Regions from separate parts of the Homo sapiens genome. Here regions 1 and 2 are each linked to region 3. The links are contacts of gene promoters, found by promoter capture Hi-C in human tissues and cell types (Jung and others, 2019). All regions are on one chromosome and are shown on one strand. Each heading gives the region's core, a stretch centred on a gene start or on the middle of the fragment in contact. The rest is flanking DNA. Distances are from core to core; before and after follow the strand shown. Region 1 overlaps SCAI (suppressor of cancer cell invasion). Region 2 overlaps SCAI (suppressor of cancer cell invasion). Region 3 holds the start of SCAI (suppressor of cancer cell invasion).

What was found. The method cuts DNA at HindIII sites, captures the fragments that hold promoters and counts their contacts. A contact is called where the count stands out against the background at its distance.
Region 1: a fragment that was not itself captured here is called in contact with the fragment with the promoter of SCAI in region 3 in 3 of the 25 tissues and cell types used here (IMR-90 fibroblasts, aorta and dorsolateral prefrontal cortex).
Region 2: a contact is called between a fragment that was not itself captured here and the fragment with the promoter of SCAI in region 3, in 3 of the 25 tissues and cell types used here (adrenal gland, dorsolateral prefrontal cortex and thymus).

The regions. Positions count from the first base shown.
Region 1 is chr9:125,035,121-125,039,197 of GRCh38, forward strand. The region is part of intron 3 of SCAI (suppressor of cancer cell invasion); the gene reads right to left. Among named protein-coding and RNA genes, the nearest start is that of GOLGA1, 96 kb to the left of the region's middle. The HindIII fragment of the contact is 9,496 bases long and covers 1-4,077 here.
Region 2 is chr9:125,055,484-125,059,582 of GRCh38, forward strand. It overlaps SCAI (suppressor of cancer cell invasion), which reads right to left. Exons shown (of 18, transcript NM_001144877.3): 3 at 393-524. Among named protein-coding and RNA genes, the nearest start is that of SCAI, 86 kb to the right of the region's middle. The HindIII fragment of the contact is 7,319 bases long and covers 1-4,099 here.
Region 3 is chr9:125,141,749-125,145,760 of GRCh38, forward strand. It overlaps SCAI (suppressor of cancer cell invasion), which reads right to left and starts at 1,780. Exons shown (of 18, transcript NM_001144877.3): 1 at 1,637-1,780; 2 at 885-929. The coding sequence starts at 1,689. RefSeq lists a silencer at 1,399-1,898. The HindIII fragment of the contact is 13,050 bases long and covers 1-4,012 here.

The DNA of each region.
Region 1 (4,077 bases), core at 1,068-3,567, 110 kb before region 3:
GAGATGGGAGGACTGCTTGAACCCAGAAATTCAAGACCAGCCAGGGCAACAAAGTGAGATCCCTGTCTCTAGCAAAAATGAAACAATTAGCCAGGTGTGGTGGCATGCACCTGTGGTCCCAGCTACTCAGAGTCTGAGGAAGGAGAATCGTTAGAGTCCAGGAGGTCGGGACTGCAGTGAGCTGTGATCATACCACTGCGCTCCAGCCTGGGCAACAGAGTGAGACTCTATCTTAAAAAAAGAAAAAATGAAAGAAACAAAGAAACAAAGAAAACATAGAAAAGATGATGGAACTAGTGGGAATGAAAATTTACCTTACAAAATGGAATCAAAGGGATACCATCAATATGGTGTATGGATGGGTTAAAGGACTGGGTTTTGAAGTCAGACTGGCTTGGTACCACTAATTGTCTACACAATGTTATACAGAGTAAACTTTATGCCTTAGTTCCTCATTTATAAAATGGAGATAATAATAATAGAGCCTAGACCATAGGTTTGATGACAAGAGTTACTGAGTTAATACAGGTAACGACCTAAGAATACACAGCACCTAGTGAAAACACAAAAAAGTTAGATAATACTATCATCTATGATCAGCATTTAAAACGTGTGCTGCCAGTAGTTGACAATATGATTAATAAAATGAATAATGGGCCAGGCACAGTGACTCAAGCCTGCAATCCTAGCACTTTGGGAGGCCAAGGCAGGAGGATCATTTGAGGCCAGGAGTTCGAGACCAGCATGGGCAACGAAGTGAGACCTTGTCTCTACAAAAAAATTTAAAAATTAGCCAACCAGCAGCCCTCGGGGCTGCTCTGCCTACAGAGTAGCCATTCTTTTCTTTCTTTACTTCTCTAATAAACTTGTTTTTACTTTAAAAAGAAATTAGCCAGGGGCATGCTTGTAGTCCCAGCTACTATGGGGGCTGAGGCGGGATGACTGCTTCAGCCCAGGAGGTTGAGGCTGCAATAAGCCATCATTGCACCACTGCACTCCAGCCTGGGCAACAAAGGGAGCCCCTGTCTTAAAAATAAATAAATAAAATAAAATGAATAATGGGAAAACCGAGAAGAGTGGTAACGTAAATTCAGAGGGTATGGTGGGGATTAGACAGTATGTGTGGATTACTTGAAAGAGGCCTGGCACAAAGTAAGCACTAATAAATGTTAGTTGCTATTAGTATTCTTATTCCTGCTACTATTTCTATGGGGCAGGGAAAAGAGTAGCTTTTGGGTAAATGAAGTCTTCATTTATTGTGGCAGGATATCAAAGGAGAATGTATAAATTAATAAACGAAGAAAGAGTGATAAAAGTATATTTGAGAAATGAAAGTAAATGCCAGGAAAACTAAAATCAGAAAGAGTCAAAAGTGATTGCCTCTGAAAAATGAGGACTCCAGGTGAGAGGGATGTTTTAGCCAATACTACTTCATAGTGTAAGCCCTTTTATATTATTTCACCTTGTAAAACTCATGTTTTTTAAATTATGAGTTATATTTTAATTCATTTTTTGAATTGGTAATTTATATACATAGTATAAAATTCAAAGAGCACAAAAGGTATGTATAGAGTAAGTCTCCTCCACTTCTATTCCAAATAACCTAGGTCTTCATTGTGAAGACCTTTATTTACTTACAAGCATATAACTGTGCATGTATGCATATAAATATGCTGTTTTGAAAAAGAAGTTTTAAATAAATACATTAAGAAAAAAGTAGCCGGGCATGATGGCTCATGCCTGTAGTCCCAACACTTGGGGAGGCTAAGGCGGGAAGAGCACTTGAACCCAGAAGTTCAAGACCACACTGGGAAACATGGAGAGACCTTACCTCTTCAAAACATTTTTAAAAAAATTATCCAGGCAGGCCAGGTGCAGTGGCTCACGCCTGTAATCCCAGCACTTTGGGAGGCCGAGGCAGGCTGATCACCTGAGGTCAGGAGTTCGAGACCATCCTGGCCAACATGGTGAAACCCTGTCTCTACTAAAGAGACAAAAATTAGCCAGAAGTGGTGGCAGGCGCCCATAATCCCAGCTACTTGGGAGGCTGAGGCAGGAGAATTGCTTGAAACTGGGAGGCAAAAGTTGCAGTGAGCTAAGACCGCACCACTGCACTCCAGGCCTGGGCAACAAGAGCAAAACTTTGTCGATTAAAAAAAAAAAAAAATTAGCCAGGCCTGGTAGGACTACATGCCTATGGTCACAGCTCCCTGGGAGGCTGAAGGGAGAGTATCATTTGAGCCAAGGAGGTCAAGACCAGCCTGGGCAATGTAGTAAGACTCTATCCCTACAAAAAAAAAAAGAAAAGAAAAGAAAGAAGAAAAAAAAGTACAAGTTGAAAAAGAACAATCCCATGACCTAACCAATTCCATTTAATATTTTAGTGTATTTCTTGCCAGACTGTTTCCTGGTCATATTTGTTTTGTCACCTTAAATAAGGAAATTGTATTTCTGTTTCATTGGCTGTCTAAGACTATTAGTGATCTGAAAGGGTTTTATAGAAGAATTTCTTGGCCGGGTACAGTGGCTCAAGCCTGTAATATCAGCACTTTGGGAGGCCAAGGCGGGCGGATCATTTGAGGTCAGGAGTTTGAGACCAGCCTGACCAACATGGTGAAAACCCGTCTCTACTAAACATACAAAATATTAGCTGGGTCTGGTGGCGAACGCCTATAATCCCAGCTACTTGGGAGGCTGAGACAGGAGAATTGCTTGAACCTGGGAAGCGGAGGTTGCAGTGAGCCGAGATTGTGCCACTGCACTCCAGCCTGGGCGACGAGAGTGAAACTCCATCTCAGGAAAAAAAAAAGAATTACTTGTGCCCATTTTTGGGGCCATCAAAATAAGAAATAACAGGTCAGTGCAGTGGCTCATGCCTGTAATCCCAGCACTTTGAGGGGCCAAGGCGGACAGATCACTTGAGCCCGGAGTTCGAGACCAGCCTGGGCAACATGGCAAAACCCTGTCTCTACAAAAAAATACACAAATTAGCCAGACATGGTGGCACAGGCCTGTAGTGCTAGCTACTCGGGGAGCTGAGGTGGGAGGATCAATTGAGCCCAGGAGGTCAAAGCTGCAGTGAGCCAAGATTGCGCCACTGCAGTCCAACAAGACCCTACCTCAAAAAAAGAAAAGAAATAATTCAAATGAAACTGTTTCCTTTTAAAGCATCATTGAGAAAGCCACAAAACAAGGCCTATCAGTGTGGCTAGCTCAACCTGCTATGTTTTGTTAAAATGTTTTTCTTGAGATAAACTGGGTGCAGTGTACATCGGTAGTTCACCAAGCCTGTAATACCATGATATCTAATTTATGATTTCCTTTTGAGCTGCTGTTTCTTGGCCAGCAGCTGTGTGTCTCCAAATAATTTTTCCCCCAAACCAGCATGTTTTCTGAATATGTCTTCTTGATCTGCTTACCTAGATGTTTTCCAAATGCTGTAAAATGTTTTTTAAAATTTCATCTTTACTTTTTCCATTACAACTTTTCTGAATTCTCCATCAAAAATATTGGTAATTATTCAGTTGTGTCATCTTCATTCTCTTGACTTCATATTTATCATTTTCTCAGGATACTGAGAGATCATCTGCAGTTCTTCCTGAATATCACTAGCTAAATGTTTTGAAGTACTGGTAGGATCAGTCTGCAGTCACATCACCCTGAGGTGCAGCATCTTGTCTAAGTATCAGTTCTACTCTATTGTCTTTGATGTGAATTTTAATCCTGCTACTGCGTTTTTGCTTTCCTGAACATCTTTCTTGCTTTATTTAACCTTAGCCTGTTATCTCCTTATAGTTCTATGCTCTTTCACAGAAGCCATGATCTGTGGCATTTTATTACAGAAGACAATCTTCTGAAAGTTTTTTATACCCGGCCAACTGATCTTTACTCATTGGTTTCATAGCTCTCAGTATGTATACTGTGACAGTGACAATATTTCTTCCCCCTCTTACATTCGGCTTAATTTTTAGAAGTAGCAATCTGGGGCCGGGTGCAGTGGCTCACGCCTGTAATCCCAGCACTTTGGGAGGCCAAGGTGGGCAGGTCACAAGGTCAAGAGAGCAGACCATTCTGGCC
Region 2 (4,099 bases), core at 1,536-4,035, 85 kb before region 3:
AAGAATAAAAGAAACAAGCAAGTAAACAAATTACAAAAATGCAATAGGAGGCTCCACATTCAATTGCATATGCATTTTTAGGCTCCTCAGACCTCAACACCCTAATGTGCAAAACCAGATTAAAATCAGATCTGGTGTGAGTTATGTATACAAAACCATTTCACAAAATAGCTCTTTTTAAGTTGACTAAAACAGTGTAAGTTATCCTCTTTTCCTATTGTTTTTTTATCCAAGAATTTTAAAAATGATGTCAAAGAAAAAATCATGATCACTCTAATACAGAAATTTATATGACATTCTACCCATAATTTTCGGAAACTTACCACACATCAGCCAGAAAAAAAACAAATGCAGAACTAAAGAAAAGTTCAAAACACCAAGAGTCCACTCACCTTAACCCATTGAACAGTTGCTTAGATTTATCCAGAAGATAACAAAAATCTGTAACTGTTTTCCTCTCTCCCTGTGGGATATCATCTTCAGCACCTCCAGAGGACATGATTTCTTTAAGAGCAAATTCAGTCCTGTAAGAAAACATATGTTCATTCATGCAGGAGGTAAAAATAAAAATAGAAAAAAACCTTAGTTATATCATCTGATAGTATTTTTTATCCAAGACAGATATAGAATTCTTCTGATTACAATCAAATCACAAAAATATAATTTAAGTGTAAGATACTGTAAGAAAACAGATCATCTCAGTCGGGCGCAGTGGCTTACACCTGTAATCCCAGCACTTTGGGAGGCCGAGGTGGATGGATCACCTGAGGTCAGGAGTTCAAGACCAGCCTGGCCAACATGGAGAAAGCTTGTCTCTACTAAAAATACAAAAATTAGCCGGGCGTGGTGGTGGGCACCTGTAGTCCCAGCTACTCAGGAGGCTGAGGAAGCAGAATTGCTTGACCCAGGGAGGCGGAGGTTGCAGTGAGCCGAGACGTGCCATTGCACTCCAGCCTGGGTGACAGAGCGAGACACCATCTCAAAAAACAAAGAAAAAAAGAAAGAAAATAGATCATCTCCTATCATTGGTATGGATGAAAATTGGAACCATATTAGAAAGCAATTTTTATAATATCCTTTCCTCTAATAAATATTATTTGAATGCCTGTTATGTTCTAGGCATTCCTCTACATGGTTAACAATCTAAAAATATTGATTTATTTGTCCATTTGATCCACTCTATAAATCCTTCTGGAAAATGATCCCACAAATGGGAAAACACTTTATCCGTGTATTTATTTTAGTATCATAACATTTAAAAATTGAAAACAACCTAAAGGCCCCAAAGACTAAAATGGTTAGGAATACTGACCACTGCACTCTACCCAATCACTAACTTACAACTCTGTTTAAGAAGGTGAGGCAATGGTATGAGTACACTTCAGTATAAAAGGGATATAAAATCACACACACACATATACATACACACACACGTACACACACAGACGTATATTAAAACTATATTGAAACTATCTCCACTTGTAATAAATTTCATAAAGCTGCCATGTAAAAACAGAAAACAACAGTAAGTTGTCAGACAGTATGTACAATACAAACCTAAATTTTAAAAACTGATTTGTGTTTACACACAGACAGAAATTCCTGGAACAACAGGAAAATTTGGTCCTGGTGTAGGATGTAAAAATAGGCAGACAAAATATAGTCACTGAAATAATGTGATACAATTGGTGAAATAATGAATTTTAATAGATGGACTGAAGAACAGAAAGGATACAGTTGAACAAATAAATAAGCTAAAATATCAGATTTGGGGTACTCTGCCAAAAGACAGTAGAAAGAGATTAAATATATAAAAGAAAAAGCAAGAGATAAGATAGAGAAATGAGGGAAATCAACTGCCACACAATAGCTTACACAGGAGGAGAGAAAAACACAAATGAGAGTGAAGAAATATTTGCAGAAATAATGACTAAATTTCCCAGAATTAGAGAAAATGTAACACCTAAAATTGAAAGGACTCAAAGAATGTCAAAATAATCCCACAGCTAGAACCATTAAAGTAAAACTTAGGAAATCAGAATTCTCTTCCCTTCCTGAAAAATTCACTCTTATAGCCACCAAGTGGGTATCCACATCACAGGGTACCTGCATGGTTGTCGGAATATAAGCTACGTGAGGAGGCCATTCGCAGGCAGAGCCAGCTTGCACAGGATGTTGAAGGCCGAGTGTGGAGGAGGAGGAGGGCACCCATGAGGGTGGAGGACTGGCAGGGAAAGTAGGAGCCTGAGCACCTCCACATAGAAGGGTTCAAAGCAGCAATGGGAGATTTGCTATATAAAGAGGGAAGGATCAAATAAGATCTATTAAGGGCAGATGCAGTGGCTCACGCCTGTAATCCCAGCACTTTGGGAGGCAGAAGCAGGAGGATCACTTGAGGCTAGGAGTTTGAGACCTGCCTGGGCAATACAGTGAGATCTTGTCTCTACAAAAAATGTAAAAATTAGCCAGATGTGGTGGCAGGTGCCTACTCAGCTACCTCAGATACTCAGGAGGCTGAGGCAGGAGAGTCGACTGAGGCCAGCAGTTCAAGGGTGCAGAGAGCTATGATCCCTCCACTGCACTTCAGCCTGAGTGACAGAATGAGACCCCATTTCTTTAAAAAAAAAAAATTCTTTTTTAAAAAAGATTTATTAAAGGCAATGGGACCCAGAGTTCTCACTTGGCAGAGAAGGGAGATGCAAATATGGAAATGGAAGAAGTTAGAATGAACTCTGTGGATTGAAACTGGGCCAGGTACAGTGGCTCATGCCTGTAATCCCAGCACTCTGGGAGGCCAAGGTGGGTGGATCATTTGAGGTCAGGAGTTTGAGACCAGCCTGGGCAACATGGTGAAACCCATCTCCACCAAAAAATACAAAAATTAGCCCAGCATGGTGGGGTGTGCCTGCAGTCCCCAGCTACTAGGAAGGCTGAGGCAGGAGAATCACGTGAACCCGGGAGGCGGAGGTTGAGGTGAGCTGAGATCATGCCACTGTACTTCAGCCTGGGCGACAGAACGAGACTGCGTTTCAAAAAAAATAAACTGTAAGTATGAGTGAACTCATGGATTTCTGAAGACATGGACATACATGCATGGTGTGTGTGTCTACATAAGCACACACAGATGCATACTCCCTAGCTCTGTAATTCTATCTACTGAGAGCGCCTTGGAGCAGTGATCATCTTCCCTCCCCAGTGGTATGAACGTTTCTAGCACCTAACACTTGGCCCCTAATACCATTCTCCAATAAAAGGAACCAGACATCTCTGGAGAATTGTAATTCACTAATTACAGCACAGGGGTAGAAAAAGTACAGGATCAATCTGGAATATCTTGTGGTAGTAAGCAAGAAAGTGCTCAAGGAATGCTAAAGAATGTCAAAAAGACATAGGATCAAGCTTGAAGGAGATCCCACTGGCCAAACAGGGTAATTTCAGCATCAATACCAATAGTAATAGCAATGGATTATAACCTACTGAACAAAATAAGAAATCATGAATCAATATAGATATAAATAAATGAGTGAATAAATGGAAAGTGTGGTAGTGAATGGGATAGTTTCAGAATACTTCCCCCATAAACTACACATTACTTCCAAGGGAAAAAGTAATTTCACAGCAGTAAAATCCAGCAGACACTGCCTTGATCAAATGATCAAAGTGAACATCATTAGTAATCAGACAAATCAAAGTCCCATGCGATGAGAAGTACTGTTCCTGTCAAAGTTCTGTAGCCTGAGTCTAATCATGAGGAAACAGACAAAACCAAGTTGGGGGACATTCTACAAAATAACCAACCTGTAATCTTCAAAAATGTCAAGTACTTTCCTTCAAAGACAAGGGAAAACTGAGGTATAATGCCTGATTCTCCCCTGGATCCTTCTGCTGTAAAGGATGTTATTGAGACAACTGGTAAGGCCTGAATGGGGTCTAAGGACTAGACAGGAGTAAATTTCAATGTTAATAAGAAAAATGTTCAACCACCAATGATGAATTGGTGAACAAAATACAAACACAGTAAAATACAGTAACAAAATACAAACCTAATGCAGCAAAATGAGCACATTAAAACTACACTAATTATAGCAGTTGAACATGC
Region 3 (4,012 bases), core at 530-3,029:
TTTATCTTTTACTAGATGCATGATTTTGGGTAAATATTTGGCCTCTCTGTGTCGCAGTTCCCTCTTCTGTAAAATAGTGACACTACATATTCTCTTAGGGTTCTTTGAGGATTACAGGAGAAGATACACATAGAGCATTCGTACACAGTACTTGGCACATAGTAGATGCTCAATAAAATTAGTTTATTTTTTGAGGCAGGGTCTTGCTGTGTTCCCCACACTGGAGTGCAGTGGCATGATCACGGCTCACTGCATCACTGCAGCCTTGACTTCCTGGGCTCAAGCAATCCTCCCACCTCAGCCTCTTGAGAAGCTGGGACTACAGGTCCACAACACCCGCTCAGCTAGTTGGTTTTTGTTTTTTTAATTTTTTGTTTTTGTGGGTACATAGTAGGTGTATATATTTATGGGACCGGCTAGTTTTTCAATTTTTTGTAGAGACGGAGTCTTGCTCTGTTGCCCAGACTGGTCTTGAACTCCCAGGCTCAAATGATCCTCCTGCCTCAGCCTCCCAAAGAGCTGGGATTGAAGGCATGAGCCACCCCAGCCAAGATGAGCTTTTTAAACAGAGATGCTGGAGAAAATGAAATTATGGCTAAGGTTAAAAAAAAAAATAGCTGAGATCCTTACACAACATCAAAAAGTAAAAAAGTAGGATTTCTCAAGATTTCCCACATTATCTTAGATACCAAGAAAAAAAAAATCGACTGTAGAGGTAGTAATTTGAAGTCCTCAAAAGAAAAATCATGCATGTGGTTATATTCTTTTAAAAGGGGGATAAATAAGAAACTTCATCTACTGACAGTATACAATTATGCAGTACGGCACAGGTGCAGCCAAGCAAAAAGAAAAACATGAAGCAAAATAGGAAGGCACTGCCTTACCTGCTTCTCCGTTTTCGAGGCGGTTTCTCCACTGTGCCAGTCAGTCTGCAGACCAAACAAATAAGACGGTAACTAAAAGTAACATACAAGAAAACATCTCCCGGCGCTACCGTGCCAGTCAAGAACTAAATAGACCACCCTCTGGGACCACAGGCTCGCCAAGCCCAGATCTGACCTTACAAACGCCTCATGCCCTGTTTCCCCTATTTACCAAGACCTAGCATTCCTGGGACTCACCGTTCCCCCAATTCCCCCTGAGCTCAAACCTTCCTGGTCCCTCACCCCATCCTCGACCCCTGCTCGTCACAGCCCAGCTCCCCAAAATCACCCACCTCCACCTACTCATTGTCTGCCTCGTCACCCCCGCAAGCCCCCCTAGCCTCCCCTTTCCTGTGCCCACCCGTTCCCGACCGTGCACTGCCCCCTCCACGCCCCGCCTCTCCGGGCCCGGCGACCCCCGCATTCCACGGCCCCTCCGGGGGCGCGCCCGCCTTGCCCCTCCCGGCCCCGCGCCGCCAGCCTCACCCCTCGGCGCCCCTTCCCTCACACGCCCCTCTCACCTGGCCTCGAGGAGGCGATCGCGCCCAGCCCGCGCCGCCGCCTGCAGGCGCCCCCAAGGTCCCCCCAGCCTGCACCCCCCGCCCCTCCGGTCTCTGCGCCCCGAATGCTCCACCGCCCCGAGCCGCTGCCCCTGGGCCCGCTCCCTGGCCCCCACCCCATCCCCAACCCCGGCCTCCACCCAGCCCCCGCACCTGGGGGCCAGGCGACTCCGCGGCTGCTGGGGCTGCCGGGCTCCTCTGACCATCCGGCTCCTGCTCCGCCGCGGGAGCTGCTCCGGCGGCCGCAGGGCTCGCTCGGGAAGCTGAGGCGGCGGAGGCTGGAGTAGGCGGAGAGGCGGGAGGAGGGCCTCGCGCCTCTGCCAGGCTTGCCGCGGGGCCCGCCTCCTCCGCGCCTCTCCTCGGCTCCCATTGGCTAGAGCAGTAGTGTGGACGGAAATCTGTCAGTCGATTGGACGCTCGGCCCGTCACATCCCGCGCTGCCCACCCAGAGGTTTGGTTGAGACTGCAGGTGGCGGCGGAGGTGCCTTAGAGATTGCTAGCAGGGCCGGAGGAGACCCTAGCGCCACCATGCGTCTAAAAGTAGGAACTGCACCCCCGGCTCCAGACACCTGCCCCAGGTTCTCCTGGCTCTGCGTCCTGCATACCACACACCTGCTGGCGCCCCTCCACCTCTGCACCACGCCAGGACCGAAAACAAGCCCTGAAATCTCCCAATTTCTTCTAGCAGGTGAGACAGTGAGGCAACTCTCACAAACGTGTTTCCTTTTAAGCCACCTCGAATGCGATCCTTGTCCCTACATCTTGCTGAAATTGTCTCACAGCTCACAGCTACCCCTCAAAAAGGACCCAGCCAGAAAACTCTAAGAATCCACCAAAATAAAGCATGGTTTGGATGCTCAATCCTCTGCAGAAAAGCTCACTAGCTTGGGTGCAGGCTTTTAAGAAAGTAAGATTTTTTTTTAATTACCATGAAAGAAAAATCAGCACTACAAACAGAACCAATGCCATACTAAAAGCAACGTGTTCCATTTTGAAAGGCCTGGACAAATTTGATCCCTGAATGGAAGCTGACCATCCTGATTGTGTGACCATTGCAAGTTCTACACCAATTAATCAATTTTAAAATAAATTGTACTGTATTTTTTGACAAACAGGCATGCAAAACTGCCTTTCATAAGCATAGTTACCCTTCTTCTGCTTTAACAAAGCCATCCTTGAAAATAAGACTCAGCTCATTAACGTATTATAAAATTCTTGAAGGTGGGAAGGCCTCTCTAAATCTCTACTCCTGTGTGAACTTGTTTGGTATATTCTCAGCATCTGTTCAGAGTTGGGAGGAGGCATAAAACTTTCTCTTAAGTCACTTCCATTTTATTAGAACATCTTTTATGCCTCAATAATATGACAGCGTCGAGTAGTACATGTCAACATTGGGGTGGGGAAAATCTCTCATTGATCTCCATAAGCGGCAAAAATTAGGATACTAGTTTTTCACAAAACCAAATGTATTTGGTGTAAAGAGTTGTCTTTTCTTCTGAGATGGTCCTACCTACATCTTTAATGGTAAAATGACTTTCCATTTATGAAGTAATACTGACGGTAAATTGTAGTAGGAATTGAAAAATTGCTTTGAAAAAATGTCAAATCTCTGTTGGTCCCCCAAATTAGTATTTCACGTAATCCTAAAGTCACAGAACCACAAATCACCTCAATCTCAACTAACAGTTTCCACCCATATTATCAAGCCAGAGAGAGGAAAGAACTCGAGAATAATTTGTGTCAGACGAAGGGGGATCATCAACTCACTAGGGAAGTAATCTTGAAATACATTTATTATATTCCTTATTAAAAATCCATTGCCTGCTTTTTAGCATCTTCCATAATTGACCAATCCTCACTGATATATGGCAGATATTGTCAATAAAACAGGACCTATTCATTTCTTACGCCTTCCCAAAAAGGATCCTCGAGTCTTCACATTGTGTCCAAGTGATCTCTGCTTATTTTAACTCTGTAAGACATACAAATCCCATCATTCCAGTCCACACTTAATTCACACTTCCTCTTTATCTTCCCCAATTACTCCATCCTACATCAAACATTTCCTTGTCCAGATGTGTTGTACTTACAAAATCTACACTATGTTAGCAATTATACATTGCCTTGGATTATTCTTCCCAACTACAATGAATTTGAACAAATGGCCTATGAGTATGAGCCCTTAATAAAAGGCAGCTTTGGACCAGATACTGGGTGCTTTGTGTGTGCTATTTTTAATAGTGAGATTAACCCTGCCTGATATTCTCTTATTTTAGACACAGAAACTTAAGATTCAGAAAATTCAATCTGTTCAGGGTCACACAACTACAATAACCAATATTGCTTAAAATAGAGCGCTAAAGAAATACTCTGGTGTGCCCTCTAGGGATTCAAGTTCCAGCTCTCTTGTGCAACGTTAGACAAGTCACCTATCCTCTCTAAGCCTATTTCCTCATCTAGGGGGAGAAAAGTTCTAGAGAAGGATGAACAAGATTTATTAATTTTTTTGAAGTTTGGGCTGGGCACAGT